Linked DNA regions of Homo sapiens: regions 1, 3, 4, 5, 6 and 7 are each linked to region 2. The links are contacts of gene promoters, found by promoter capture Hi-C in blood cells and fetal thymus (Javierre and others, 2016). All regions are on one chromosome and are shown on one strand. The core of a region is centred on a gene start or on the middle of the fragment in contact, and the rest is flanking DNA. Distances in the headings are between cores, read along the strand shown. Region 1 overlaps LPP (LIM domain containing preferred translocation partner in lipoma). Region 2 holds the start of BCL6 (BCL6 transcription repressor). Region 3 overlaps LPP (LIM domain containing preferred translocation partner in lipoma). Region 4 overlaps LPP (LIM domain containing preferred translocation partner in lipoma). Region 5 overlaps LPP (LIM domain containing preferred translocation partner in lipoma). Region 6 overlaps LPP (LIM domain containing preferred translocation partner in lipoma). Region 7 overlaps LPP (LIM domain containing preferred translocation partner in lipoma).

Evidence for each region. Contacts are between HindIII fragments. The CHiCAGO score rates a contact against its expected background, and 5 or more counts as called.
Region 1: a fragment that was not itself captured here is called in contact with the fragment with the promoter of BCL6 in region 2 in 1 of 17 cell types (activated CD4 T cells); the score reaches 5.1 in activated CD4 T cells.
Region 3: a fragment that was not itself captured here is called in contact with the fragment with the promoter of BCL6 in region 2 in 2 of 17 cell types (naive CD8 T cells and naive B cells); the score reaches 5.5 in naive CD8 T cells.
Region 4: a fragment that was not itself captured here is called in contact with the fragment with the promoter of BCL6 in region 2 in 3 of 17 cell types (M1 macrophages, M2 macrophages and activated CD4 T cells); the score reaches 8.4 in M1 macrophages.
Region 5: a contact is called between a fragment that was not itself captured here and the fragment with the promoter of BCL6 in region 2, in 1 of 17 cell types (total B cells). The highest score is 5.9, in total B cells.
Region 6: a fragment that was not itself captured here is called in contact with the fragment with the promoter of BCL6 in region 2 in 4 of 17 cell types (M2 macrophages, M1 macrophages, M0 macrophages and 1 more); the score reaches 9.8 in M2 macrophages.
Region 7: a fragment that was not itself captured here is called in contact with the fragment with the promoter of BCL6 in region 2 in 6 of 17 cell types (M1 macrophages, monocytes, total B cells and 3 more); the score reaches 13.6 in M1 macrophages.

The regions. Positions count from the first base shown.
Region 1 is chr3:188,323,969-188,328,007 of GRCh38, forward strand. The region is part of intron 2 of LPP (LIM domain containing preferred translocation partner in lipoma); the gene reads left to right. Among named protein-coding and RNA genes, the nearest start is that of FLJ42393, 150 kb to the left of the region's middle. The HindIII fragment of the contact is 794 bases long and covers 1,396-2,189 here.
Region 2 is chr3:187,743,662-187,748,035 of GRCh38, forward strand. It overlaps BCL6 (BCL6 transcription repressor), which reads right to left and starts at 1,807. Exons shown (of 10, transcript NM_001706.5): 1 at 1,749-1,807. BCL6-AS1 (BCL6 antisense RNA 1) reads left to right here and starts at 8. Exons shown (of 2, transcript NR_173091.1): 1 at 8-383; 2 at 1,583-2,365. RefSeq lists an enhancer at 920-1,445. The HindIII fragment of the contact is 3,720 bases long and covers 1-2,699 here.
Region 3 is chr3:188,364,522-188,368,350 of GRCh38, forward strand. The region is part of intron 3 of LPP (LIM domain containing preferred translocation partner in lipoma); the gene reads left to right. Among named protein-coding and RNA genes, the nearest start is that of FLJ42393, 190 kb to the left of the region's middle. The HindIII fragment of the contact is 6,150 bases long and covers 1-3,829 here.
Region 4 is chr3:188,298,069-188,302,445 of GRCh38, forward strand. All of the region lies in intron 2 of LPP (LIM domain containing preferred translocation partner in lipoma), which reads left to right. Among named protein-coding and RNA genes, the nearest start is that of FLJ42393, 120 kb to the left of the region's middle. The HindIII fragment of the contact is 3,963 bases long and covers 821-4,377 here.
Region 5 is chr3:188,448,320-188,452,516 of GRCh38, forward strand. The region is part of intron 4 of LPP (LIM domain containing preferred translocation partner in lipoma); the gene reads left to right. Among named protein-coding and RNA genes, the nearest start is that of LPP-AS1, 120 kb to the right of the region's middle. The HindIII fragment of the contact is 6,076 bases long and covers 1-4,197 here.
Region 6 is chr3:188,274,104-188,278,422 of GRCh38, forward strand. The region is part of intron 2 of LPP (LIM domain containing preferred translocation partner in lipoma); the gene reads left to right. Among named protein-coding and RNA genes, the nearest start is that of FLJ42393, 98 kb to the left of the region's middle. The HindIII fragment of the contact is 1,820 bases long and covers 870-2,689 here.
Region 7 is chr3:188,430,766-188,434,638 of GRCh38, forward strand. All of the region lies in intron 4 of LPP (LIM domain containing preferred translocation partner in lipoma), which reads left to right. Among named protein-coding and RNA genes, the nearest start is that of LPP-AS1, 140 kb to the right of the region's middle. The HindIII fragment of the contact is 4,911 bases long and covers 1-3,873 here.

The DNA.
Region 1 (4,039 bases), core at 543-3,042, 580 kb after region 2:
ATTTGGAGATAGTACATGTTGCAATGTGGTTGACACAGAATAAGCTTTCAATAAATGATTGGTATTGTTGTTGTTGTCGTTATTATCTATAACTACAATAATTTCCCTAGCCTTATTTTATAGGGATAGGTTGTGGCAACATGAAATGTGACTTGGAAAACTGATTTGCACTAGATAGATAGAAACCATGTTTTTCTATCTATATAATGAACAATGTCATTTAAGAAAGCTTAGAGGCAATTCCACCAGCACCATCTTCTTTTTTATTTCCATTCCTAGATTATTTGCCCTCAAGTCTTTGGTAATTTCTTTTTGCCACATCTCTTGAATGTTTCTTCTTTACTATATTCCATCTATTATTACCATAAGTCCAACGTTCATCACCTCCTGCTCCACTGTTGTTCCTGTCTCCTGGCTCTCCTAGAGCCTTGGTTCTCAAAGTGTCATTCACAGAGCAGCAGCATCACCCGAAATGCGTCATCTCAAGATCTACCAAGACCTCCTGAAGCATGAGGCATGTTCACCCCCGTGTTGTAGGACCTCCATATAACTCATTTAACTACTTCTCCTGCTCAGAGTACATGCTTGGCCAGTGCGTGTTTGTTCTGCCTCCAGAATGTTTTCTGACTCTGATTGCTATCATTACTTCTTTTGAATCTACCTAAATTCAAGTTACCATCCATTGCCATGACTATGGCAATAGTCTCTGAAATTGTCTTCTACTTTTATGGTTTCCCCTTGTGGCCTTTTTCCACACCATCTGGAGAGATCTAAAATTGTTGGTCAGATCATATCACACCCCTCCCCTTAAGCCATACGGTGGCTGCTGTAGTATCTGCAGAAGGTCCCTGACTTATGATGGTTTGACTTACAATTTGTCCACTTCACACTGAGTTTATCTGGGTGTAACCAACCCCATAGAAATCAAGGAGCATCTGTAGAAATGTTTGAAAGGCCCTTTCATGGCCTGCAAAGCCCTGTGAGATGACTCTATGTTCTCTCCTTTTTTTTTCTTTCTTTATTTTTTTTGAGATGGAGTCTCGCTCTTGTCTCCCAGGCTGGAGTGCGATGGTGCGATCTCGGCTCACTGCAGCCTCCACCTTCTGGGTTCAAGCAATTCTCCTGCCTCAGCCTCCCGAGTAGCTGGGATTACAGGCACCAGCCATCACGCTCGGCTAATTTTTGTATTTTTAGTAGAGATGGGTTTTCACCATGTTGGCCAGGCTGGTCTCGAACTCCTGACCTCAGGTGATCCACCCGCCTCGGCCTCCCAAAGTGCTGGAATTACAGGTGTGAGCCACTGCGCCTGGCCTCTCTGCTTTTTTCATACCACTCATCACTTTACACAGTAATCTGTAGACACACTGACCTTCCTTTAGCCCTCTGTATAAGCCAAGCTTTTTCCCACTTGATCTTTCTCTGATTCTGTGCAAAACTGGCTTGGAAGTATCTTTCAAGGCTTAGCTCAAATGTTAAAGCCTTACCTAGCTCTTCCCCATTCTTTAGCTAAAGTAGCACACATACCCCCCTCCCCATCATTCTTCTGTCATTATCTTGCTTTATAGTCTACAAAGCATGTATGGTTCTCTAAAAGAGTGATTACCATGCTTTTGTTTTCTTTATGTACATTGCAAACTGTTTTGGTGAGAAATATTTTAGTAATAATAATAATGGTGAAGATTTAGTGAGTGTTTGCTATAGGCTAGGCACACTGTATGGTAAATTAAATAATTTAATAGATCATTTATTTGGATTATTTCATTCTATTTAGCTGATTATATATTTATATTTTTTGTGTTCCTCTTGTTTTAGGATATCAGCTTCTTGAGAGCAGGGTCCATGTTTGTTGCATCTGTATCTCCGCCTGTAGAAGATTCTCTGGCATAGGGATTTTTGTGCAGGAAGTGTTTATTCAGGAACTGAATGGATCTCAGAAGATTATCATTTGGGAATAGATCTACATGACAAGAAAGAACAAAGAGTCTCTCTCATTCTTTTTCCCAGATATATCCCGGGAGAAAATACCCTCGACTTTTTCTTATCTTTAATCTGAGAAGGAAGCAGTTGTTGGAATCTGATTTAGGATTGGCTCTAGTGGCCCTGTGTGCAGACACAGATCTTGGGATTCATCTGACCATTTGGGGAGAGAGGTTCTTGAGGGGCACCTTGATGATAACGAGTCTTTCTAAAGCTTTAAGTTTGGCGTTTGAGGTGGTTGGAAATACCAGGTCTTCCGACTTTTACGTTCTTTGTGCGCACGCTGGTGATGTGCGTATGTGAACCTTTATTATTATGGACTCAGCCAGCAGTAACCATGGTGAGTAGACCTATCACACAGCATTTTTCTGAGTCAGTTTAAAATGCTGACAATTAAATATACCGTACTCTTTTAAGCAATCCATCAGTCTCTCTTGTTGTCATGGTGACCGGAGTATATTTAGAAATGTGACAAGTACACTGAGTTCAATTGCACTTTTGCCAAAACATAGTTTTGCAGCTAAAATTGAATTTCCTGATTGAAGATCCAAGTGCTGTTAAGGGGGCATGATCGTTTCTATACATTATTCTGGAAGTATAACTTAACGTTATTCTGTTAAATCCACAGTTACGAGTCTTATCAGGTATTGATAGTTAAAGTGGTTGTACTTAAAGTTGATGAAATAAAGTGAAATAAAAGTGACATGATGCTTTTTCTATTGAAAATGAAACTGGGCCTTACTAATATAACTAGTTTAATGATTAGTTTCTTTATATATTTATAAAGACATTGTAGGTATGTACCTGTCTGTTCTTCAGAATTATATTTCTAATTTAAAATTATATATCATGGAGATCCTCCCCTGTTTCCTGCTTGTATTCTATTCTTAGTATTGTGAGGGCATTCTTTTTTCTTTGGGTCTGACCTCTGTTTGATAAGCATTCTTATTTTTCCTCAATCTCAATTCTTCTGGATTTTAAATGAAGTAAAGAGACACAATGAACGTGACTTTTTGCCCAAACAAAGGAAAAACGAAACTCTTCTCTTTATTCAAGAATGTAGATTAAATTCTTACTTTCTTATCATCCTCTGTCCTGTCAACATAGTGCTGAGAATGATGTTGTGTATCAACTCATTTGACCACATAAAGTTTAGGAATTAATGTAGTGGCTGGGTCATGATTACAACACTGATTTCATTCCTGGCCAAAGACTGATTCTTCTGCTCTTGAGGTGAGAAAAGCCAGTACTCCTGGATACTTTCGCTTCTCTATTTTTATCTAACTGAATGAGTCTGCAACTGGGATAGTTTATGAGCCTCTAATAATATACGGTTAGACTACCATTATCTCTTTCGTGAACATTGCCAAAAGTGTTTTTTTGGTAAGAGATATCTTAGTTATAATAACAGTTTGTAGGATTTATGGAGTGTTTACTACATGCTAGGCACTGTATATAGTAAGCTCCTTAATGGATCCTTATATTGGATCTACACAGAAATCTTATGAGGTAGTTCCCATTGTATTCTTATTTTACGTTAAAGAAACAGGTTTGGAGAGATACTGTCTTTTGAAGAAGCATATAAGTGGAGCAGTAGTGGAGTCTGAATTCTGATACAGGTCCTAGTAACCACTGCCTGTTCCATGGAAGGCACACAGTGAGTATTTTTTTTACTGACCAGTGGCCTCTTGTATGGTGACATCATACAGATGTTTCAGTGTTTCCAGAGGCTCAAGAAAGTAGCAGCTATATAAAGATAGACAGGTAGCAGCGTCTGAAAGTAGAGATGAGCTACTCTTTATCTTTCCTAGTGGTTTAGAGCCAAAGTAGATTAGTGCTAGGGAGAGAGGGAACATAAGTCCTGTCTAGTTCAGTGGTTTCATCTCTGAACTCCTTTATGTTCTTAAAAATGAGCTTTTGTTTGCATGCATTATGTATAATGATATTTACCATATTCAAAAAAGTAAGAAATGAAACTACAATTTTAATGAAAAATATTTGTATAAAAAATAAATATATTTGTGAAAAAATAGTGACAAAAGTGGGAGCTGGATTCTGCATT
Region 2 (4,374 bases), core at 557-3,056:
GTTCTCAAGACATTTACCACGGTCACTACATCCGGCAGCGGGGTGGCCCCTAGCTCCTGCTGCCCCCCCGCCCTTTCTCCCCGCCCGCCCCCGGAGCTCAGCCGATTTCTGAGGCTCCAACTCTACCCACTCCCTCCCCGGGCCGCCGCCGCCGCGCCTTCCCCCATTCTTACTCCCTCGAGGAGAGCCACAGGTTGCAAATCCAACCAACCTCGCAATCTATTTTTGCAAAATCACTCACAAAGATCTCCCTTTCGCGCCCGCGCCCGCTCCTCCCGCGCCGGGTCCCCTCAGCCACGGCCACAAAGTGCCCTTCTCTCCTCCTGAGTCTTGCACATAAGGAACGCGGGCTGGGGCTCTGTTCGTCTTTCTCCTCGCCCAAGGTAAGGACCTCGGGAATCTGAAGCCTGGCGTCCACTACGCTCAGGCCCGCAGTTCCCTTTTTACAGAGCTTGCACCATGGGAAAAAATAAAATAAAATTTAGGAAAGGGAGGCAACAGCCATTGGGAGCCAACACAGAGTCACGCAGCGCCCAAAATACAAACACCGCAGCGGCCAGAAATCCCGCCACCTTTCTCGTTCTCCCAGGCTGTCCTGTCGAGGTTCCCTGAGTCCCCCCGCACACTGAAAGGCATCGCAGGTGCAGTGCGCACCCCTTTCCCACCCACCCCAAGAAGCCCTGTCCCGCCATCAGTCTCTCTCCTCGGGATGAGCAGGGAGAGCGCGCGGAGGTTCCCGACTCCCTCGACTACAACCAAGAAAGAATAATTTTCAAAGTGTTCAACATCCCCGCCCCCAAGCTCCCCAAAACACAGGGGCAGGGAACACCAAAACACTCGGCTCTCATTAGGAAGATCACGGCTCTGAAAGGAAATAGTAGACACGATACTTCATCTCATCTGGATTTATGACCAAAAAAACAAAAACAAAAACCCAAAGAGTTCGCTTGCATTTTTTCCTTCCAAATCTCGGTTCGGCTCGAAGGCAGGGAATCTAAAAGACCGAGGCCGATGGAAGAGAGCCAGCGGGGCGAGCGAGCGGGCAGCCTCCCTTTTTGCCTCCCGGAGTTACCCAGAAGGACAGGGGAAGGGAAGGAAGAAGAGGCGAGGAAAAAGAGGAGGGAGGGAAGCGGAGGCCAGGAGCGACGGAGCAAGGAAAGCAGTTTGCAAGCGAGAAAAGAGGGAAAAAACACAGCCGCACGAATCCAGAGAGATCACAAGCCGTACGCAAGCAGCAGCAGAAAGAGCGAGAGCGCGAGCGCGCGTCCTCTCCGCGGTCTGGGGCCAGACAGCCCCCAGACTAGCCCGAATCACCCCCCAAGCACTGTCTCGTCCTCTCTGCTCCGGCCGCCCCCTAATTCCCCTCCTTCCTCTCCTCCACCTCCTTTCCAAAAACCAAAACAACACAAGGGAGGGTGGCAAAAGCCTCCCCAAACCGGCCGATTCACTCAAAGACAACAATAATAATAATAAATACATAACAATCTATATCCTATGGTGGGAGAGACGTGGGACTAATCTTCGGCATTTATTTTAACACCTGACAGCTAGAATAAATAAATATATACATTTATATCAATAGATACACATAGAAAACTTGGAGCCAAAGCATTTGGCAAGAGCGGAAAAAAAAAGAATTAAAAGGTAAAATAATGATCATGAGCAGCGGCGGCGGCAGCGGCACCAGCGGCAACAGCGGCGGCGGCGGCAGTAGCAGCAGCAGCGGCGGCAGCAACAGCAATAATCACCTGGTGTCCGGCCTTTCCTAGAAACTTCTTGCATCACCACTTCTAAGAACCCCAGTTCTAAGAATCAACAGAGCTCAATTCTCGGAATTTGAGCTTCGGACTTTACCACTGCTACGTGGCAGGGGAGGACTTGGTGTCAGCTCTCCGAGATTTTTACTGCCCCTGGCCAACCAAAAGCCCTCAAAGCCACAAGATTTTTTCACTGGCCGGCATATTTCGAGGTCCTCATAAGCAGAGCGTCTCGGATTTGGAGGTTCCGGTTCGAGGCTCGAGGGGCCTGAAGGTGGCTCTCCCTCCCCGGGCCCAAGACGATGGTATGGCCTGCTCCGCCACCATCACGTGGGCTCCTCCTCTGTGACGTCGGCGCCTTCGCTGTAGCAAAGCTCGGCCTCTGGAATTCTGAGAACTAATTTGCTATTCGGTGACATAAGAGGGGGAGTGCGCTTTGCTTTCCCGGGGTCTGGGGCTAATTCCTTCTTTCTTACCCATAAACTCAGCAGATCGAGCTAAATGCACAAAAGGGAGCGAGAGGTTTGAACCACTGGGAAAAGTATGTTATATATATAGTAGGGTTAGAGAGGCGAGTAAGAGAAAAATAAAATAAAATAAACATCACAGCTCTTTCCAACTAGAATATTAGGCACCACGAGAAAAATATTTGCCAAGCAGTTTTCGGTGGGTTCATTTGCTTTATTTTTATTTAGGACAGGGGTTTTTGCTGTTGTTCTGGGTTTTTTTCTTTCTGGTGTGGTGGCTTGGGATTTTTGGTTTCTGTATTTTGATGGTTTATGGATTTTTGCTTCTGATTTTTTGCCTTTTGCAAGTTTGTGGTGTTACGTAAATCACAGGATCGGCATCGGTTGGATTTTTTTGTACGTGCCTTTTCTTTCCCTATCTAATCCCTCAAGCGTTTTAAAGATGTATTATTTCAATACTAATACTATTGAAAGAAGCTTAAATTTTTGGCCATATGTAACAATCCCAGCCCCCACTTTTTTTTTTTTTTTTTCCTTTGGTGCAATTTTCTTTTTCCCCCTTGGACTTTTGCTGAAGTGTGTCTCTCCTGCACTTCAGAGAAATGTTCAAAGGATTTGTTTTGGTTTGGTTTGTTTCTTTCCAGGACAGCAAGTGGTGGGTTTAATCTGTTATTGTTGACTCTTGGGAAATTTCTTGTTGCAAGAAACGTGTGTGTGGGGGGGAGGGTGGGGGTGGCGGGGTGGTATGTGTGTGTTTTCTACAAAATTCTGTGAGCCAAATACCTGTTTGTGTTTTGTTTTCTCTTAAGGTCTTGAGATTTTTGTTTTCGAGGCTCGTTTCAAGGTCGTTGTAAAAAAATCTCTTCAGTCTGTGTTTAAGAGATCAGCCGGAGGGAATTCTAAAGGCCTGCCGTGCCAGTATCACAGATACTGCCTGTATTTAGAACAGACTGCCACAACTACAATGCACTACACGCAGCACAGTCTTCTTAGCTTTGAAGCTGAGTTGGGGGGTGGGGTGGGGGGGGGGTAGAGAAGAAGGAGAAATTCTTTCCTTCTCTTTTTCTCTATTACTTTCTTTTTAAAGGCAATTGCAGTGCAGAATCATTTCATTGTGGGTCCTAGTTTGTTTGTTCAGAGCTGCTAGTTTCCTTATTTAAATGTTGGTTCGGGTTTTTTCCCCTCCTACTCATCCCTGAATAAGGGAGACTCTTGTTTCTTTTATGTCTCTCTCTTAAAAGAAGGGTGTGAGGGGAAAATAATATTTCAGATTCCTCAAGAATTAGCCCAAAATGTTTGGACCAGAAGCAGCTTTCAAAGGTCAGGCTGTTCTGAGCCTTGGCTATGAGAGTCCTTCAAGCGACTTATTAAATTACAGATGAATTCTTAAAGCTTCCACAAAATCTCGTCACTTGTTAATTTCTAATAAAGATATGTCTAAAATAATCTACCTATCTCAACCCAAAATTTGGGTTTATAATGGAGGAGTGATCAGAGCTGTGAAAGATTGCTGTTTGCTGGGATATTTGGAAAATCTCTTTCATTGACAGTCCCGTAAGAAGTTCCATCTATCACCGAAAATGTTGTTGGCAATGCACCCCCCTACCCCACAACACACACACATTTTTAAAGGCTGTATTTTAGGTTTTAAAACCCAGAAAGGTGCAAAGAGGTTGATTATTTTCCACAAGGGCTGGAGCTTAGGAAATATGCGTTAAAGTGTCTGTCCCTGTGAAATCTGAATATTTTAATACTTATTGACAGATGGATTACTGCAGCCTCTGCAGAAAAGCCTGTCTTGTGAACGGTTTTTGAAAAATATACATAGGCCTAATCCTGTCACTGTTGTTGAAATGTACGTTTTACCCCCAAAGACACATGATATTGTCAAGTTCAGATTTATTCTGCCAGAAGGCAGACTATCTGCTTTTTCATTTGAGTCCCCTTCCTTCTCATTTTCAAAGAAATTAAAATGAATCCCGCTGGATGCAAAATGACACCCCGATTTTGTGGAAGGGATTTTCTTTGTGTGTTTATATGTGTAATTTTTTCTTTTATGAGCAATTAGCACTTTAGGATTTCTCAGACGTATCTATATGGTTTGGAATGTGAATTGTATGGCTCTGCCTTACTATTGGGCCCTCAAAAGA
Region 3 (3,829 bases), core at 511-3,010, 620 kb after region 2:
ACTCAGAGATAGAGTTGAGGAATTTGTAGTCATTAGAGGAGAGAGATGTTAGTTTTGGCTGGGATTGGAGTTAAATGGAGAGAAAATAAAGGAAGACTTTCTGGAGGAGGAGGGTTTTGATCTGGAACCTGCACGCTCATTAGAATTTGAATTCGACCTGGCAGAAAGGGGAAAAGACTTCCCAGGCTGAGTGAAGTTTTGGAGCTGCACATTTTATTTTATTTTTCATATTTGTTTCCTGCTGCCCTCTGGCCACCATTCAGACCGTTTGGAGGCCTGTTATTGTAGGTGGGACCTAAGTTCCAGCACCAGTAGATGTGTGAGTGAGGCTTTTATAGTATTGATGTCTTGTATTTAAAATGAACAGAGGAAGAAGCCCTGGAGTCCATTCTAATAAATGTATTTCAAAGGGGGCTTTCTTCTTTTGTCTGAGTGAGAGGCAGGAATAGGAATGACAGAGGCAGCAAGTGTTGGATGTCTGTAGAAGAATCATAGAGTTCTCTTTAGAGCACTAAACAGAGGGCTAATAAAGGGCTATTGAGTCCTCCTTATGTTTTTTTCCTCTCTCAGATGAGTTTTAAGGGTAATAGAAGCGCTTTTTTTTTTTTTTCTGGTGACCTCTTAATCTTACTTTTCTCTCTTTATCTCTTCCTTTTCCTAGAAGCTAATATTAAAACCACTCTTGTCCTCTGCCATTAAAAATAAATCTGGGTAGGTTTCAGCAAGAGAGTATTTCCTAGAATGCATTATATTCTGGGCAGTAGAAGTGTATGTTTAAATACTTTTCCTGTAGAAGGTCATTATGACAACAGAGGATGCCACCAGCAACCCTGCAGTATGTGGTGAATGTGTTTCCACGCTGTGTCTGTCTCGCCTCTGCTCTCTGCCATGTCAAGCTGATTTTAAGTTTACCGTCACTTTTAGTATGTGACTTGATGAGGCACCATAATGTGTGTGTTGCTGGCCAAACATTACATGTCATGACTGTAGAATCATGAGACTGGAGTTTTAGCCTAGACCTTAGAACACGTACCTGCAAGAGGTAGTTATTCGAGCAGCAGTCTTTGTGAGACTGGAATTCAGGCACAGGGAACACTTGTTCCTAAGTTGCTGCCCCGTTGCTCAAAACATCTTGGTAATGTCTTTCTTTCTTTCTTTTCTTCTTCTTTTTTTTTTTTTTTACTCTGTTGAATGTTATCTTTTATTTTGTTTTTATTAAAAAATCAATTTCCAGCTTTATCAGGATATAATTGACGAAACAAAAGTTATGTATAGTTAAGGTATACAACATATTTTGAGGTACATTGCATTGTGAAATGATTACCCTAGTCAAGCTAATTAACATAGGCATCACCTCACAGTTACCTTTCTGTGTATGTGGTGAGAACGTTTAAGATTTACTCTATTAGCAAATTTCAAGTGTACAATACAGTATTAACTACAGCCACCGCACTGTGTATTAAATCTCCAGAATTATTCATTTGGTATCACTGGATCTCCCTTTGACCAAGAACCAAGATCTCCTCATTCCCCTGGTCCCGGTAGCCATCATTTTGCTCTGCTTCTATGTGTTTGACTTTTTTAATTTGCACATATCAGTGAGGTCACGCAGTGTTTGTTTTTCTGTGCCTGGCTTAGTTCCTTAAGCAACATTTCCTCCAGATTCATCCATCTTCTCGTAAATGACAGGATTTCCTTCTTTGTTAAGGCTGAATAACATTCCACGTGGTAATACACCGCATTTTCTTTATTCACTCTTCAAATGATGGACATTTAGATCGATTCCACATCCTGGCTATTGTGAATAACGCAGCAGTGAACATGGGAGTGCAGGTGTCTCCTTGAGACACTGATTTTGCCTTAGAGGGGATTCTGGGGCTGGGCTCCGTGGTGAAGGGCACTCTCTTTCCCTCACCTGGAGGTTATGTCAGCGGTGTGCTGGGGGTTGTACAGGTCATGTTAAGCTGTCCTTCCTGCCTTCCTCAATGCGTCATTTCTTATTTCTATGTTCCACCCAGGTGCTGCACTCTCGCCTGAATTCCTTAACGTGTGTGAGGTATTTTGGTGTGTGGCTAGTTGTTTAGAAGTTTCTGAGAGGGAATGAGTGCTGGAAACTCTATTTTGTCATTTGCCAATGTAACCCCACATTGGAATTGTCTTCAGAGATAATGAAGAGCCACTGCTAAAATCACAGACTCATGAGATGTGAAAGCGGGGAATCTGTTTAGCTCACATGCGTGTGAGAAAGCTGAGACCCTGAGACAAATATTGGCCTGTGCTGCAGGCTTTCAGTTAGACAGGGACAGCATCAGTTCTCATTCCCTTGTTAGCTCTATGCCTGATGTCTTCTCACTGTTTTGCTGCATTATAAAGAATTGATTTTTTTTTTTTTTGAGACAGAGTCTCGCTCTGTCGCCCAGGCTGGAGTGCAGTGGTGCGATCTCGCCTCACTGCAAGCTCCGCCTCCTGGGTTCAAGTCATTCTCCTGCCTCAGCCTCCCGAATAGGTGGGACTACAGGCACCCGCCACCATGCCCGGCTAATTTTTTGTATTTTTAGTAGAGACGGGGTTTCACCATGTTAGCCAGGATGGTCTCGATCTCCTGACCTCATGATCCACCCACCTTGGCCTCCCAAAGTGCTGGGATTACAGGCGTGAGCCACTGCACCTGGCCAGAAAGTTGATTCTTAGTTAAGCCTATGAATAGTTAGAAAAAAAAAAGAGAAGAGAGAAAGTTCCCCTTAGCATGGCCTATTATCACAGGGTATGTTTGTAGCAGAGGGAGAACCCAGTCCTTATAGAGTGGGTTATGGCTTCTTCTACATTCCAAGAAAATCTCAAGAAGTAGAAATCACTCTGAGTGTCAAATATTTTAGTTGCCTATTGTCACATCTATTATAAAATAGATCTGGTATAGATAAAAATAGAGTTAAACATACTAGTTAATAGATATATCTGGTGTGGATAAAAATAGAATTTAGCATACTAGTTAATATATAAATATGATGTCGATAAAAATAGAGTTAAATGTACAAGTTCCTAATTGGATTGTAGAACTTAACATTCAGGAGTAAGGATGCTGTCAAGTCTAAAGCTATGCCCTTATCCTAGTCAGTTGTTATATTCATGGCAGCCTTTTCTAAAATGTGCTCCATGAAATACTAGATTCATAAATGGTCAAATCACTGTGGGACTCTTGCTATTATTTCCACCCATTGTGGAGATTCTTGATGCATCCCCAACAAGTTTAACTCTGAGAAGTCGAACAGGCAAAAGCAATAAGCACAACTTTCTTTTCTCTTATGTTAGATTCAGGTTTTGTCCAATTTATTTTATAATGGAACCATTTTGTGGATGATTTCCCAGACTTGTGTTCTGTGGAACATTCTTTGGATAGCATGACTTTATTGTTAAAATTCTTAAGGTTCACATCTGTCATCTTATAATAATCTTGTGTGAAATATAAAGTCATTTGGGCTAAACTGTAGACCTCCATCTGCCCTCCCTTCCCCACAGGAGAAATTACAGGTTTATTTAAGGATCAAACAGTTTTGAAATGAAATGTTGTTAGGAGGGGGAAATAAAAACCTTTCAGAGCTTAATAATTGTAGAAAGAAGACAGTGTTATACCGGCCAAACCAATTTTGTGAATTAGCACTTTAACTCAGAGAGTTGTTCCTGAAAATAGCTTGTTTTTAAGCAAAACTTTGTTGGCTTCTGGTGGTACACTTTTTCACCATCAAAGGCACAAATATGGGTGATTTTAAACTGTGGCATACTTTTTTTGCATTCAAAACCAGGGCTTGTGGAAGAAACAACACCCTTTTTT
Region 4 (4,377 bases), core at 1,552-4,051, 560 kb after region 2:
TGAATATATTGTATAGATTGGTTGATAGCCTTCCTGAAATGAACATCCTTTGCAAACCTATCTCTCCAAACCCAAATCCTGCCCAAATTTCCCAATTGTGGTAGCAAGCCCAATGAGCTCCTGATACGATCCTAATAGGATCCTCTTCTCTGGAAATCCTCGACAGATCACACTTCTCTTTTCTTGGGAACAGCTTTCTGTTTCCTTGTCCAGAATGGATGCCGTTCTGTTATCCTGGTCACTCTCTGGGCCCCCTCCCTTTGTCCACCATGAGCACAGGCTACTGGCCACTGATCCTCCTGGGGGCACTAGCCTGGCTACCCCATTGCTTATTTTACCTTTGCTTCTCTTAAATACCATTGTTGGTGATTGCTCCACACAGCAATTGTTCTCACCTAAGTCTGTGGATAAGACTCACTTAGGGAGGTTTTACCAGAATTCAGCTCATCTCCCTAAATGTTTGGGTCTGGACTAGGGCACACACTTCTCGTGAGGCGCTTCTCATGAGTACCCCTTCTCAAACTTTACGGGTATCAATTTACTTATGGCCTGCAGTGCATAAAGTGAAAGCTTTCTGAAAAGACATTTAATCCATCGGTATGAGGATGAAAAAGACACACTCAGGGCATGAAAAGAGTGAGAAGGTCACAAAAAGGGTGTGGTCTCAGCTGGAGAGGAAGCTGAACAATCCTATAAAGGAACAAAAGCTCAGCGTCCTGACCATCTGTTTCTTTCTACCCCAGGCCCATTCCCATCATGAGTATTTATTCTGCCCAGTGTGGGATGGGTTCTGTTCTAGAAGTTTGCATGAGCAGAGGGAAGCTTAGCCCCATGAGGCCAGTCATGAGGCTCCATCTTATTCTATAGGCTTCAGCCTTTTTATGAAGACCTAGCTTCTACTCTTGCCCCAGGCCCTAAGCAGGCCCAGACTTTTCCCATATACACACACTCTCTCTCTAACTTATGTGTCTTACATCTTAATAAGGCAGCAGATTGTATCAGAATCAGTTAACTCTTTATCAAAAAACCCAGAGCAGACAGACGGGTGAACTTGCTCATGGGCTGAGCTAGAAGGGAGGCCACTTTTCCTTCACACAGCCTCGGACTCTCCCTGGGCTTTTTTGTGTGTGCTGCGTGGAGACTGTGTTCTAACATTTCAGTCATATCTTCCTTATTTTAAAACTACAGAATTGATCTTACCAACTTACTGGGGAGCACGTCGTCAGTAAATTCTAATGGAAAAACCTGTCTGATCAATGGGACAGGAAAGCGTCACAGCAATACCGGTGAGTCATTCCAAGACCAGGCACATTTGAGCTGTGTTGCTTCTTCGATGCTGACTATAATTCTCCCTCAGCATTACGTCGTCTTAAGCAGCTTTTGAATCTTCGTCTCTGATTCCCTTTCTAGGTCAGACTGTGTCTTTTTTTAAAATTGTGCCTGGATATCCCCTTAATAGGTTGGACAAGTCCCGTTAGGATAATTGGCTGTATGAATATGCGAAAATAGCAACAGTGAATTTTAAAGTTCTTGAATAGTCTCCCCGTCCCACTGTGAGGTGAGGCATCTGGGGTGGGCTATCTGTTTTTTGATTCTTGGTTCTTGTTTTTAAAAAAATAGGATGTTGGACCTTGGGATGAGAGGGAAGTAAAACAGTTTTGGAACCCTTTTAGAAAGCAAACTAAGACAAAACTCCTTTCTTGAGAAAAATGGATGGACATTGTAAAGAAGACAGTAGGGCACCAGGAAGCCTTGAGCCAGGTCTGCCTGTGTCACATTTCGAGTTATGAGCTTCACCGCTCTGCTGTCTGTCTCTGGAGATCATCATCAAACCCCTTTCTCTGAGTTGTTGAATGGCTCAGATGAGTTAATGCCTATGAAAGTACTCTGTAAACAGAAAAATACCTTCCTATTTGTAATCTCAACAAAGGGACTTTTATCATCCCTAAAACAGAACAGACATTTCTTTTTCAATTATGAAAGTTACATAGACTCTTTTTAAAAAGTTAAATGCACAAAAGTATGATGAAAATTAAAATAACCCTAATGAGTCCATCATCCAGGGACATCATTGTTCTAATTTAAACATTTGGGTAATCTGTTCTCTTTTTTTAAGAAGGGTTGTGTGTGTTTATTTTTTTTCTTTTTTTGTGTGTGTTTGTGTATATCTATGTGTATTTTTATTCTGTTTTCTTTACATAACACTGTATTGTAAACATTCCCAAAATGTAAATTTTAATCATTGCATAATATTGCATTATCTGATATATGCACATGCATTTTGAGATTTTGTGACGAACGATTGTGACTATTGTTTCCATAATTAAGGGTTAGCTGCTTACCAAGAAAGGAACTTACTTTAAAACATGGCAGGCACACTTGGCCATTTTTTTTTTTTTTTTTTTTTGGCAGTAAAGGAATTTGAAGTATCCAGTTTTTTAAATAAATTAATATGTATTGAATTGGAGTTTAGCAGTACTTTTAGTTAAGATCTCAGTTAAGGTAAAAAGGTCAGACCTGTAGAGTTATTAATTTGTAGAAAATTCTGACTACAGCAAAACATATTAGCCCAAGTTCTCTTTATTAATAAAACATTAGTTACAGAAATACTAAAAAATAGATTGGTTGGTCTCCTGAATGTCCTGCGTTAGGTAAGTTGCCTTATGCCATCTGGAAGACTTTTTATTTTCTCTTCATAGAAGGATACAATAGATTTGTTTTGCTCAAAGAGTTCATTTTCTGTTGCTGGGCACATATATAATACTGTAAACACATTTCTGGATATGACGACATAATGATGAAGAGAGACCTTTGAATATTTTCTTAAATGAAGATTGAAGGAGTAGTAAGCTGTGAGAGGAGATTTTTCTACTATTTCAGTCCTAAGATTGATCTTTTTTGTCATGGATTTATCCCTTTGTCTCTATGCATTTCTATGTGTCTGCTCAGCATCTTATCTTCTACATTTGCCCTAGTTCCATCCTTCCTTTTTTCCATGCTTGTTTTTCCATACACCTGCCCATCCACCCTCCTGCCTCTCTATCCAGTCGTCCGTCTAACCATTTCTGGCAATTCTTACCTCCCTGTTTCATGTATATCTCTCCATTTTTACCTGTCATTTATATTTATCTATTTGCCTATCCATATCTACACCTGCTTGTCTGCTCACTGTCTATCTATAAAGTTAATGGAGATGATTTTGATGAAAACTTATGAATTTCTTTATTGCATTTTACACTGTGGGTTACAGGGGCCAAAGGCCATGGGGACCAGAAAGTGGAAATAACCAGAGCTCGGCCATTTTTGTTTCATTTCAAAATCAGGAGGGAAGGTCAGAACTAACCTGATTATCCTTTCTGTGATGCTAATCAGGATGTTCTTAGTATAATGCCTTTTGGAGACTGTTATTTTAAGGAATGTTTTGCTAAGAATCAGTTGCCAGGACATAGAATGAAGAGCTATTGTATAGCTTCAGAGTAGTTCTCTTTTAAGAAGGATATAATAAATTAAAAATAATTTTCTTGAGGTCAGACTAAGGAAAAGTCAAAGATATACAATTGCCATCTCTCCAAATTTATTGATTTTATTTATTTATTATTTATTATTATTATTATTTGAGACAGAGTCTCACTTTGTTACCCAGGCTGGAGTGCAGTGGCACGATCATAATTCACTGCAACCTCAATGTCCTGGAGTCACTGAAGCCTCTCAAGTACCTTGGACTACAGTTGTGTGCCACAATGCCCAGCTAATTTTTTTTGTACTTTTTTTAAAGACAGTATTTTGCCATGTTGCCCAGGCTGGTGTTGAACTCCCGGGCTCAAACTATCTGCTTGCCTTGGCCTCCCAAAGTGCTGGGATTATAAGTGTTAGCCACTGTACCCAGCCCAATTTACTGACTTAAAAAAAAAGAAAAAAAAAACAACAACCCAGAACATATTGTAACATTCTCAGGGAGTTTAGAGACAACATAATGAAGGTATTTTCAAGGTTTGGGGAGCTGCTTGGAACTTGATTTTGGACAAAATGGAAGGAAAACAACCATCCTTTACTGAAAACCATTTTTCTTCTGATTCTGAGAAAGCTGCTTTGCATTTACTCTCTCGTTTAATTCTCCCATCCTTCCTTCAATGTAATTTCTATTATCCCAATTTATAACTAAGAAACAGAGACTCAAAGAGGCTAAATGATTTGCCTAAGTTTACATGATTAATGAGTGCCACAGTTTTTGTGGAACAGAGACTTGTTTGAATCTAAAACTGTTACTCTTTGCAGTAAACCACAATGAAACCTTAGCTATATATCAGTTCTCCACTTTAAATTTTATGGTAACTCAACCTCTGAAAAGGATCCTGCAAATAGCACAGTTTTCAGTTC
Region 5 (4,197 bases), core at 325-2,824, 700 kb after region 2:
AGGAAGGTTACCTGAGATGACTCGTGCAAAAGCTAACACATAATAGATAATAATATCTATCTATATTGAGATATCTATATTTAGATAAAGATATCTATATTTAGATAAAGATATCTATATTTAGATATCTATATTTAGATAAAGATCTATATTTAGATATCTTTATCTAAATATCTATCTAAATAAATGTTAATTTATTCTGAAGTGTGGTAAGTTTATCTAACATTTACTGTAGCAACCAAGGTGGGGCTAAATATGGGGACCAATCAGAAAGACGATCTCTGTCAGTTTTGCCTAGGACGTTCAGTGGGACTTGGGTAGGAGACTGTGGACTAATCTCACCTCTGGAAATTTGTGTGGCCTGTGCTATAACTGAGAGGAACCAAGTAAGCCTGTGTATATGGCAAATGGTAGTCCTCTCCCAAACAACATTTGTAAAGAAAATGCATTTTGCACTATTTCTTAGTGTGTCTGAGGCTTTTTATGTTCATAAAAATCTTAGTGAGTTGTTGAAACGTGCTTTTCTGAAAAACCTTGGAATTTACCTGGTTTAGAATTAGAATCAGAAATGTGTCTTTTTAAACTGTATTCTACCTTCTTAAATCTTTTGCCTTCTGCAGCAACATGGAGCAACTCTGATACTTTTTTCTACTTGAGGGCCTTTCGTAGTCAGAGATTATACTAAGATAGCAAAAAATAGAAAGTGACACACTAGTCAAGGTTGGTTTATTGTGTGGTAGGAAATCCAAAAGACGTTGGAAGCAACAACAATAGCTCTGAGGTCCTTGGAACCAGGAGTTTTGAAACTTTTACTTTACTGCACGTCTGTTGACATGATTCCATGAATATTTCTGCTCTTTCTCCCTTATGTATACCAGATCCACTGGGCTGAGTTAAATATAAGACCCCAAGCATGGTCAATTCTTATTAATAGTCCTTGAAGAGGCTCTCTCTTGTTTTTGATTGACTTTCTTTTTCTTTCTTTTCTTTTCCTCATCCTTTCTCCTTCTTCCATTCTCCCTTCCACCTCACAGAAGCCTAACGGGCTTGGAATAGCACTTATAAATGCATGAATTTTTAGAAATATATACTATTGTTTTCATTTCCACAATAATCATGCCTAACATTTATCAGCCACTTCCCATATGCTAGGCTCTCTTTCAAGTCCTTTAAATGTAATAACTATAATAATCTCACAACAAACTCCATGAGACAGGGACTGTTATCTAGTGTGTTTTATAGATTAGAAAACTGAGACACAAAGAAAGTAACTTTCTAAGCTCACATACCTGGTGAGTCAGTAGCTGAGGCAAGATTTAAAATCAGGCAATCTGACTGTACATCTCACTCTTCGCTACTTTGTCCTTGTGCCTTTAGATCATGGTTCTGTGCTATCGATCTGATCTTATTTCTTACTCTTTTTACTACTGTTGTTGCTCAGCATAGTCTTCCCCCCTCAAAAATAAGTAACATTTATATTGCTATTATTATTATTATTATTTTGAGACAGAGTCTCGTTCTGTCACCCAGGCTGGAGTGCAGTGGCACAATCTCAGCTCACTGCAACCTCTGCCTCCCAGGTTCAAGCAATTCTTCTGCCTCAGCCTCCTGAGTAGCTGGGATTACAGGCGTGCACCACCACGCCTGGCTAATTTTTGTATTTTTAGTAGAGACAGGGTTTTACCATGTTGGTCAGGCTGGTCTTCAGCTCCTGACCTCGTGATCCGCCCACCTCGGACTCCCAAAATGCTGGGATTACAGGTGTGAGCCACCACGCCCAACCTGTATTATGAATTATAATACATAGATAACGTGTAAATATTTAATGTCACATATTATTCGTGTGAGTTAGATTTGTAAATTTGATTAGCGCTGAGACATTGGTATTAGTTTTTTCTACAGATGAGAAAACAATTACATACTTTTACAAATGATACAAATATGTGTGAAATATATTTAATCACATACATGAATAATGCTCAGTGAGCAGGCATAGAATTGTCAGGACCTTTGCAGTATCTCCAATATATACCCTGCCCATAGATTAGGAACTATTGCTGTACTATTGCTCATCAGTTTAAATAATTATGTTAATTCACATTTATCTATATGATCAGCATAATCTTTCAAAAATCGATTTACAGGCCTGGTGCGGTGGCTCACGCCTGTAATCCTAGCACTTTGGGAGGCCGAGGCAGGTGGATCATCTGAGGTCATGAGTTCGAGACCAGCCTGACCAACATGGTGAAACTCCTTCTCTACTAAAAATACAAAAATTAGCTGGGCATGGTGGCAAGCGCCTGTAATCCCAGCTACTTGGGAGGCTGAGGCAGGAGAATTGCTTGAACCTGGGAAGCAGAGGTTGCAGTGAGCCGAGATCACGCCACTGCACTCCAGCTTGGGTGACAAAGTGAGACTCTGTCTCAAAAAAAAAAAAAAAATCTATTTACATTGCAGCTCCTTTAGGAGGTTTACTACTTGTAATACTGTAGAGTCTTCCAGAGTGTGCATCCATTGTATTTCACTGATTGATTTCGTTAGTGATACACCTCAAAGTGAGGTAGTCATATACCTCCAACTCTTGGCTGCCACAAATGTACTGTCGTGAGCATTTTGTATATGTGTTCTTAATGATTGGCAGAAGTTAGCTCAGGATTTGTGGCTGTGGGGAGGGTGCTTGATCATAGTGCATTTTAATATTGAGTTTCACTAGGCTCTGTGTTTTTTGTTTTTTGTTTTTGTTTTTTTTTAAACATAAAGGCTTCACTAGGGTTACTTTCCCCCAGTAAAGCATTAGGATTCTTGTTTTCTTCATGCCATCACCAGCACGGGGTATTGCATGACTTTATATTTTTTGCTAATATGATGGGTATGGAACTACTAGTACCTCCTGGTTTCTGCTTCTTTTCCATACATAGTAAACAGATTCAGTCTCTCAAAATTACTGGGAAGAAAAGTGATTTGTTTCATAAGTGTTAAGTGTCTGTTTCTGGTCATGGCTATCTCTGGGACTGTGGTCATAGAGAGGCATACTGGCTATTCAGCAGGGTTTCTGAGTGGGAAAAAAATCTCTTGAAAATGTGGTGTTGTCAAGGAAGGCCATTTTACTGATGTTACTTCAGGGCCCTTCTTTCATTCCTTCACATTTTTCAATATTTATTGTATGGCAATTGCATTGTAGAAACTTTTCTAGGTACTTGGGAACAAAATTGTGAACAAAATAGACATGTCCTGTGGTTTCTCTGGAACCTTTAGTGTGGTCAAGGGGACAGGCATTAATCAAAATACTCAAGCAAACATTTAATTACAAACTATCATGAGTGCTACAAAGGGAAAGGAGAAGAGCTCTGGTATATAACGGGGTAGATGATCTGTGTGTGCTTACTTGATGCAGGTGTCTTTTGGGGATGCTATAAGACAGAAAATTTAGAGGATAAGGTAAAGCAGTAGGAGGAATATTCAGACAGAGAGAATAATGTGTGCAGAGATCCACAGGCAAGAGGGAATGTGGCATCCTCGAGGGATAGTGAAACCAGAGTTGTTTTGAGGACTTTTATTCATTTATTCAACATATTTTTATGGAGTGCTTACTATGCTCTAGAATATGACAGTGAACAAGACAGAACACTAGGAGATGTTTGAGATGAGGCCGAAAAAATAGGTAAGGGGCTCGCCCTATTGTACACTCATCTCCCTTGGTTTGTTTTTTTGTGTGTTTTCAGAGAGAAACAGCCGTACTTAACAATCTGGTTTCAGATTCTTTTAACCTTCTGTTTGCCTTTCTCTGAAGGTGCTACAGTTTGTTTGACACCCTCTTCAAGAGGGGCCAGTAGAACTAAGGATAAAATTTTTAAGTCTTCCCATCAAGAAATGTGTCGTTAACATTAATTAAGTTTCCTCACTGTTATCAATGAATATCCCTCCGTATCCTTCTCTTTCACTAGCTGAGCATTATATTATGTGTTGTTCAAGGGCAGATAGTCTGTGAAGAAGTGCTTTAAAAACTGATAGCGTGTGGGCTCTGAGCATGTTGTGCGGCTGACTGGCCCCCACCTCCTCTTGTTTCCTTTCTCCCCAGAAAGGCCTCACTTGCTGCATGACAAGTCAGGCTATTGTTTGCTCATTCGATATTGTCAGCTAAGATGCTTCACAATTCCTTAAGAATTTATTATTGTTGTTGTTGAGGGATGATAGAGT
Region 6 (4,319 bases), core at 530-3,029, 530 kb after region 2:
TCTTTATCAGTGAATTCATTTATTCTAAATTTTTTTCTGATGTAGTTTGGGACTTCCTAACTTAACAATGGAAATTGAAAATTGGAGAAGCTCATTCTGTATTCTTTCCTTTTTATTCCATTTTTGATACTGGATTATGTCTGTATAATTGCTCAAATTGTGAGTCATGTAGGAACATGCTCTGTGTTTCTGCACATGATATTTAAAACCTATTTATGCTTTCTTAACCACAAAGGGGACCATAAAAGTCCTGTCAAATAGTCCCAGACTGTAAATTCCTTGAGGTCAAGAGCTGTGTCAAATTTATTTTTGTACCTCTTTCTGCTACAGCTCCCAGCCCCTAGCCCAGTGCCAGGTAGCTCTGGCAAATGAGAGTGGGATTGAATTGGATTTCTCGTTCTGACCACTCTCTTGGTGCCTTTATCAACTTGTCCACCCCATTGGGAGGAGGGGCATGGACCTGTCAAGTGTGATGAATTGGTAGATCATGGAGTTTTCCATCCTCCACTAGAACTTTAGCTGTGTTTAGACTTCAGAATGCTGAGTAACTAATAAAAAACGATTCCAAAGCACTCTGCAGATAGAAAGTGCTTCATGTGTAATAAATAATAATAGCCTCTTAAGATTAGGCACAGCCACACAAAGAAGTGCCAGTCTTGCAGGCCGCAAGAATTCCTGATAGACCTTATGGTTAGAGTGGATTGGTTGAGACTGACCCTTGTCACTGTTTTGTAATAAGCAGTTTCACCTCCAAGTTACCACGTATTTTCCATTATGGGAAAAGGGTAGTTTCTGAACTATCTAGGAATTAATCCTTCCAATTATCGTTAGGAGTCTGACTGAAGGAACACCATGAAAATTGACAGTCAAGCTTTCTAGGTAAGCCTAATTCAGTGCTTAAATTTAGTTCTAAATCCTGTCCCCTTCTCCAACTGTTATTTCTTTAAAGGAATCAGCAGTCACCTCTATTTTAGTTCTACAGCATGTGGTGGTCTTAAGAGGTGGAAACTGGCACCTTTTCCCAAAGGAGAGACTGGAATGGCCAGAGCCCATCCTGACTTTGGGTCATCACTTTCAGATTAAAACATAACTGTACAGAGTACATTTCCCTTGATTCTCTGTTTCCACAGAGAGGCTTTTCTGCTTTAGGGTTTCATTGATGGGATGACTTCTTTTCCTTTGTCCTAGAGTGCGGGTCAATCTAATTCAAGTTTGGTGAATAAATGGAGCCATAAACTGTGTTACCCACTTTATTTATTTATTTATTTACAAATGAGGTCTCCCCTCCCTCTGTTGCCCAGCCTGGAGTACAGTGGTGTGATCATAGCTCATCTCAGCCTGGAACTCCTGGGCTCAAGCAATTCTGCCGTATCAGTCCCCTGAGTAGCTGGGACGGTGGGTGTGCACCACTGTGCCTGGCTCTCCACCTTATTAAAGTGAGTTAAGAGAAGCATAAACAGTGTTTTGCTATTCTTCTTGGTAACTTTAAATGATGCTTTCTTCTCAGCAATGATGGTCCAGTCTAACTGGGCATCATTCATTTAGCTATTATTTATTGAGCACCTGCTGTATTCCAGGAACTTTTTTTTTCTTTGAAACGGAGTCTCTGTTGCCCAGACTGGAGTGCAATGGCACCATCTCGGCTCACTGCAACCTCCACTTCCCAGGTTCAAGCGATTCTCCTGCCTCAGCCTCCTGAGTAGCTGGGATTACAGGCACGTGCCACCACACCTGGCTAATTTTTTTGTTTTTAGTAGACATGGGGTTTCACCATATTGTCCAGGCTGATCTCGAACTCCTGACCCCGTGATCCTCCTGCCTCAGCCTCCCAAAGTGCTGGGATTACAGGCATGAGGTACCGCGCCCAGCCTCCAGGAACTTTTCTAGGTGCTGCTGGTCAGTGAAGAAAACAAAGCCTGCTGTAGTTACCATTTGAAAGACTGAACAGAAGTGTGACTTTAAAAAATGATTTGGCAAAAGTATGCTTTAAATAAATAAACACAGCAAACAAAAAACACAACAGCTCTTTCATTCTGTCCTTTCCTCTATTCTTTCTCTTGTCTCCCATTTTTGTCCTGTGTGTAACCTGACTCCACACCTTTTATTCTCTCACTCTGCTTATCAACACAGCCATACTTGCTTCTCAGGCTCTTCTGTGTCTCTTTGTTGTGTCTGCTGTGCTTCATCATGTGGCGATGAAGTAGATGAAGGTTGTTGGTGGCCGGACCCCAACTTCGTATTCCTTCTTAGCTAGTTCCTTGATTGATCTCCAGACATGGAGTGGCAGGTAGGTGCTCTTGTTGTAAGTCACAGAACCTGGAGGAAAGAGTGGTTCGTGGCCCTGGGGCCTCTGGGGGCTGATGCTTGGATATTTGTTTAGATATTTGTTTGGATATTTGTCCCCGTCCAAATCTCATGTTGAATTCTAATCCTCAGTGCTGGAGGTGGAGTCTGGTGGGAGGTGTTGGGGCGGATCCCTCATGACTTGGTGATGTCTTTGTGATAGTGAATTCTTGTGAAATCTTGTCATTTAAAAGTGTGTGGCACCCCCCACCCTCCAACTCTGTCTCTCTCTCTCTCTCTCTCTCTCTTTCTCTCTCTCTCTCTCTCTCTCTCTCTCTGTCTGTCCTCCTCTCCTGCTGTTGCCATGTGAAGTGCCTGCTCCCTTTTGACTTCTGCCACGTTGGGAAGCTTCCTGAGCCTCCACAGAAGGAGATGCTGCTATGTTTCCTCTATAGCCTGTAGAACTGTGAGCCAATAATTCAACAACTCAACCACTTCTTTTCTTTTCTTTTTTTTTTTTTTTTTTTTTTTTTGGAGAGACAGGTCTTACTCTGATGCCCAGGCTGGAGTATAGTGGCATGATCTTAGCTGACTGCAACCTCTGCTTCCTGGGTTCAAGTGATTCTCCTGCCTCAGGCTCCTGAGTGGCTGGACTTATAGGCACGTACCACCATGCTCAGCTAATTTTTGCATTTTTAGTAGAGATGGGGTTTTGCCCCTTTGGCCAGGCTGGTCTCGAACTCCTGACCTCAAGTGATCCACCCGCCTCCACCTCACAACGTGCTGGGATTACAGGCATGAGCCACCTCACCTGGCCAACCTCTTTTCTTTTAAATTACCCAATCTCGGGTATTTCTTTATAGCAGGGCAAGAATGGTTTAATACAGGGGCCCATCCAGCAGCACTGCATTACCAGGATTCTGCTGAAGAAATGGACGTGGCCCCAAAAGCCATAGCCTGGCTGCCAGGTGCCCCAGAGTATTGTCAACTCAGAGGAACATCTCTCAGGAAATATTCCTTGATTCTCTCTTCTCTATTAGTTTTTTAAATGCTTCTATCCCAGAGGAGGTGCTCAGTAAATTTTAGTTTCTTTCCTTTTCCGGAAAGTCTCATGACTCTTTATCTGAGTTTGACTTAAGAGAACTTACTTAATAATAATTAATAATAAAGAATAAAACCTGCTAATAATAAGATTTAATAGAACTTTCTGTTTAATTCCATGGTTATTATACCCATTTCTTAATCTCTCTAAGAGACATGGACTGTGTTAAAGTGTGTTTATGAACTGGTGGTCGAGGGTGCATTTCCCTCCTAAGAAAACTCATTCCTTGTTATGGGATAAGGTTCTTGGAGCTACATTTAACACTCAGTCCTAGACTTCAGTGGCTCAAATGCCGAGACATGACCTCCATATTGACCACACGGTTGATCATGCTGACCACAGATTTCTGCTAAAGCTTGAGGTGCCTGACCATCCCTGGCTATTGTCATTCGCCCTAAACTAGCTGTTTGGGAATGGGGCCAGTGATGACCCTTTAGTAGAGATAAGGCAGAGCTTGTGGAGGAAAAATCATTTATTCTCCATTCCCATGATTTAGCCCTCTAACTTCATGCATTTCTTTTTGCCCTTTTTCTTGTGCTGGATTTTAGCCCCCAGCCTCTCTTTCGATCATGATAATTTGCATTTATTACACACGTACTATGTTCCAGGCACTGGGTAAATTGCTTTCTATTGTTCATTTCATTTAATCCTCAAAGCCAGCCTATGCAGTAGATACTAGTGATCCATATTGGATGGATGAGGTATGGATGGATTAGAAAGGTTTATGTAGCTTACCCAATGTGGCACAACTTGTAATGGCAGGGTCAGACTTAGAAACTAAATCTCTCCAATACTAGCTTTTGATTTTATTTTTACCCTACTCACCCCTGATATTCGTCCCCTGGCCTTTTCTGCTTACCTGGCTTGGAGCAAGTCCTCATCTGCCAAAGACTATGTAGGTGGTTGGAAGGAGTGCTCTGTCCTCACCTCTTCC
Region 7 (3,873 bases), core at 500-2,999, 690 kb after region 2:
GCCAAGTTCAGTAAAGTTGAAAATGCTTTACACCATCACTGATGATGTTGAGTCTTCCCCACCCAGCTCAACATTGAGATTTTTTTTTTATATGTAGAAGTTATTTGTTCCAGAATTTTTCCTTTAATTCATTGAATTATTACATAATTAACTTTTTTTTTCTTTAGGATTTCTTGGCTCTCAAATACTTTTACTCTTTTTAGAGTGCTACAGCCACAGTTTTCTTAAATATAGGGATTTTTGAGGTATCATATTTTGCTAATGGTAAGTTTATAGTATTCCTAAGCAGCTTATCTCATACAGTTTTCTCTATATTGAATATGATTCAGATGAAAATTAACCTGCGTGAAATGGTTGTCATCTGGAATGACTGCCTTTTACCCTAGAAAACAGCCAGCCCAAGGTTGAGAACACATCTGAGAAACTGTGCCTATTTTGAGAACTACCAAGAAATTTTTATTCACTGGAACAGCTGCCAGGAAACTTGTTGGTCATAGACCAGTGCCTTAGTTGGGCATTTTTTTCAGAAGTAGAGAAAGGCAAAGCTAGAGTCACCGAGGGATTGGAAGGATGAAAGACGTGTAGTTGAAAGCTGGGCACCATGGAAGACCGAAACACTCTTCAAACATTCTGTTTTCAAGAATAAACCCAACCCTAGGAGCACGAGACAGAGTATAAAGAGCCATGATTTTTAGCGAAGACCTCGCATTTATCTTAAAATTTGATTTTGTTGTGAATATAATCTCAGAATTATGCAGGGATGGTCCATCAAAAAGGTCTGCCAGAGTCAAGCTGAGTTTATCTTAGCCATGCTGAAAAGTAGGTGGCAGTCAATCAAAATGGCAATTACTGTACAAGACAAGAGTTCACTGGAGGGAAGGGTGAATGGAAAGGACACTCCCTGCATTCTTGAGGCCTATGTAAATCAACAAATGACTCTGGGTTAGTTTCCACAATTGTAAAACAATGTGATTGAACAATATTGTTTCTTCACTTCCTTCCTGCTCTAAGATTGTACAAAAGTATGATTCAACTACAGATATTGCATAAAATTGGTTACTCCTGAAGTGCATGGAGTAAAATTGTTCCCATAGAATATCGTGAATTTAGTTAGGTTGTGACATGGGTCATAGTCTCCGCAGTCTGTACGCCCTCAGTATATTCCTCTGACAACCCCATGTCCTTTCATTCTAAGCTAATATCCTTACACATCTTTTTCTCTACACCTGAGCAAAATATACATTCATGTTCTTAAGTGCATGTAGTTAAGAGGAAGCTAACACTTAATTTGTTCCTGCTGTATGCCGGGTATCTGGTATGTCATCTTCATAGCATTATTTGAAGTTTGGTACTAATATTTCCATTTTTCAAGTGATGAAATTAAGGCTCAGAGAGATAGTAAGTTGCCCAAGGCATCATGACTTACAAAGAATGGATCTTAGATTTGAACACAAATATCTCTAAATCCAAACTTCATGATTTTTCTACTGTATTTCATTTGCTCACTTCCAAAGTCTATACAAAAATATTTGTTAAATGTGCATGTACTGAGCTACCGATATCTACTATATCTGTGTATACAGCGATAGCTATCAAAAGGAGAGACGTCCTCTAAATCTTTGATAAAAGTATGTCAAAATGGAACCCTCCCAGAAGGACTTCATTTTTAATAGAAATCAGAGTATTAGCTGAAGGCACGAAGTTCTAAGATAAAAATGTAGCTATGAATCAGGGTGGATTCAGAGAGGTCTTTGTGTGTATGCTATAGGTGATCATGTGTGAATTTGACCTACGGCAAGAAGAATTTTTTTTTTTTTTAAAGCTCTTCCAGGTTATCCTTGTGTTGGGGAGGAGGATAGAATAAAGAAATGAATGTCTTGCTGGTTCTTCCAAGTTGTATGAGGATAATATCACCCAGGGATGATATGCTAGATAAAGACCCAGGATCTTTATTACTTTTTGACATTTAGTTTTGTTGTTGTTGCTTAAATTTCTAGTCTGTTTTGATGGCATTAGAACCTTTAAAAGGAGCTTGTAACCTTTTCTTTTTACTTTTCCTGAAATGTGTGGATGGGAGGATTGGACAAGAGCCTCAAGGGATGGGAAGAAGAGCTCAGTGCGAACACACATGCATTTATTCATTTAGCAAACATCCATTAAGTGCCTAGGACCTTTAAGGTATTCTGCCAAGAGCTGTGCAGGATAGGAATGAACAAGGGATGACCTTTGCTTTGGCTATGTACACCAGAAAAACGAGCAGGGGCTGGAGGACTCTTGCCAAGAAGCTATTTAGTGGTTCTCTTAGAGCCTTATCTCTATCTAGGCTGGAGATTAACTCAGAACATTTTTTTAGTCTGTTTACCTCTAAAATGAAAAGAAATATATATTAAGAATAAGGAGGTGGCGTGGAGCTTTCACTGAATGTATTTCAACTGGAGTATTGAACGTTATAGTGATGGATACAGTTAATCCATCACAACCACCATTTCAAAGGAAAGTGGGGAAATCCTTTGTCCCTGTGTGAAAAATAACTTAGGAAATTTTGGTCTGACAGTTGTGAGAGGGTTAAGAAAGTCAATCATTTTGTAACCAGGCACAGCAATCTTGTATGAACCATGTCAGGATGTTGTCTGCATGCCGTCTTTGCTGATCACAGTAATCGGGTCATAAGAGAAAGGGAAGTAATAGAGTGTCTCTTAGCAACCAACCCCAGGAAAAAGAAAATTACTCAAACCCAGCCATCCAGCCAGAGAAGTAGAAAGAAAAAAATATTCTGATAGTTTGCTGAAAGAGCTCAGGGATGAGAGAGAGAGAAAGAGAGAGAGACAGAAAGTGAGAGAGAGAGAGAGAGAGAGAGAGAGAGGAGAAAGGAGAGAGAGAAGGAGGGAGAGAGAGGAAAGGGAGAAAGAGGAGAAAATAGGAAGGAGAGAGAGAGATGATGGAGAAGAGAGGCCAGAGAGAAAGAGGAAGGTATGGAGAGACAGGAGGGAGAGAGAGAGAGAAGGAAAAGAAGGAAGGAAAAAAGCAGAAAGAAGTAAACAAAAAACTGAAACCTTTTATTTCTTTGTTTTCCTTTCTCTTGGTGTTATCTTTTTTTAAAATTTTTATTTCAGAAAGAGAGAAAGAGGCAAAGAGTGGGTGAGGACAAAAGAAACCCTGTCTCCTAAAACAGGAACTTGATAGTCCACATCGTGAGAGAAAGTGGGGAGGGTGAATGGTAGTATAACTTCATCGTGTCCCATGTTTCTCATGGTTTCCAGTTGCGATCTGGATTACTGTTGAGAAGTAATAGGAAGACGAAGTCTACAGATGCTGTGATTAGTGTTCTAAGACCTGTTTTTGAATTCTCTGCTTGTTAATCGTGTAGCAGTCAGTTCTACAGCTTACTGCAGTCTTTATAGTAATGACTTTCGAACTTTGTTTTTTCTGACATAAATAGTGGTAAGAAACACATAGTACATTGACAAGAGCGTATATATGTACATGTCAATGTAATATATATTGTCAATGTAATATTATGCTAAGTGAAATTTTCATATATAGATATATATATTTTTTCATATATAGGCTCTTTATGTGATGCATACTAATGTTTTCTATTCAATTTCATTACAAAAATTCTTTTGGATACCTGCTGAATTGATTGTATGACCCTAATGAGTTACATTCTTCCATTTGAAAACACCAGTCTAGGATCAGCACTTGCCTTACATTTTGATTTTACTAGAGTGGTGCCAGGCAGCAAGTTCAGTCTTGGTGAAGAGTCTTTGGCCAGCACTGTGATGTTCAGAATAACAGCTATTTAAGCTAAATATTTTCTTGTCATCTGCCAAGTAGATGTATCCTAAGAGTCTGTCCTGGTTTGGAATTTAA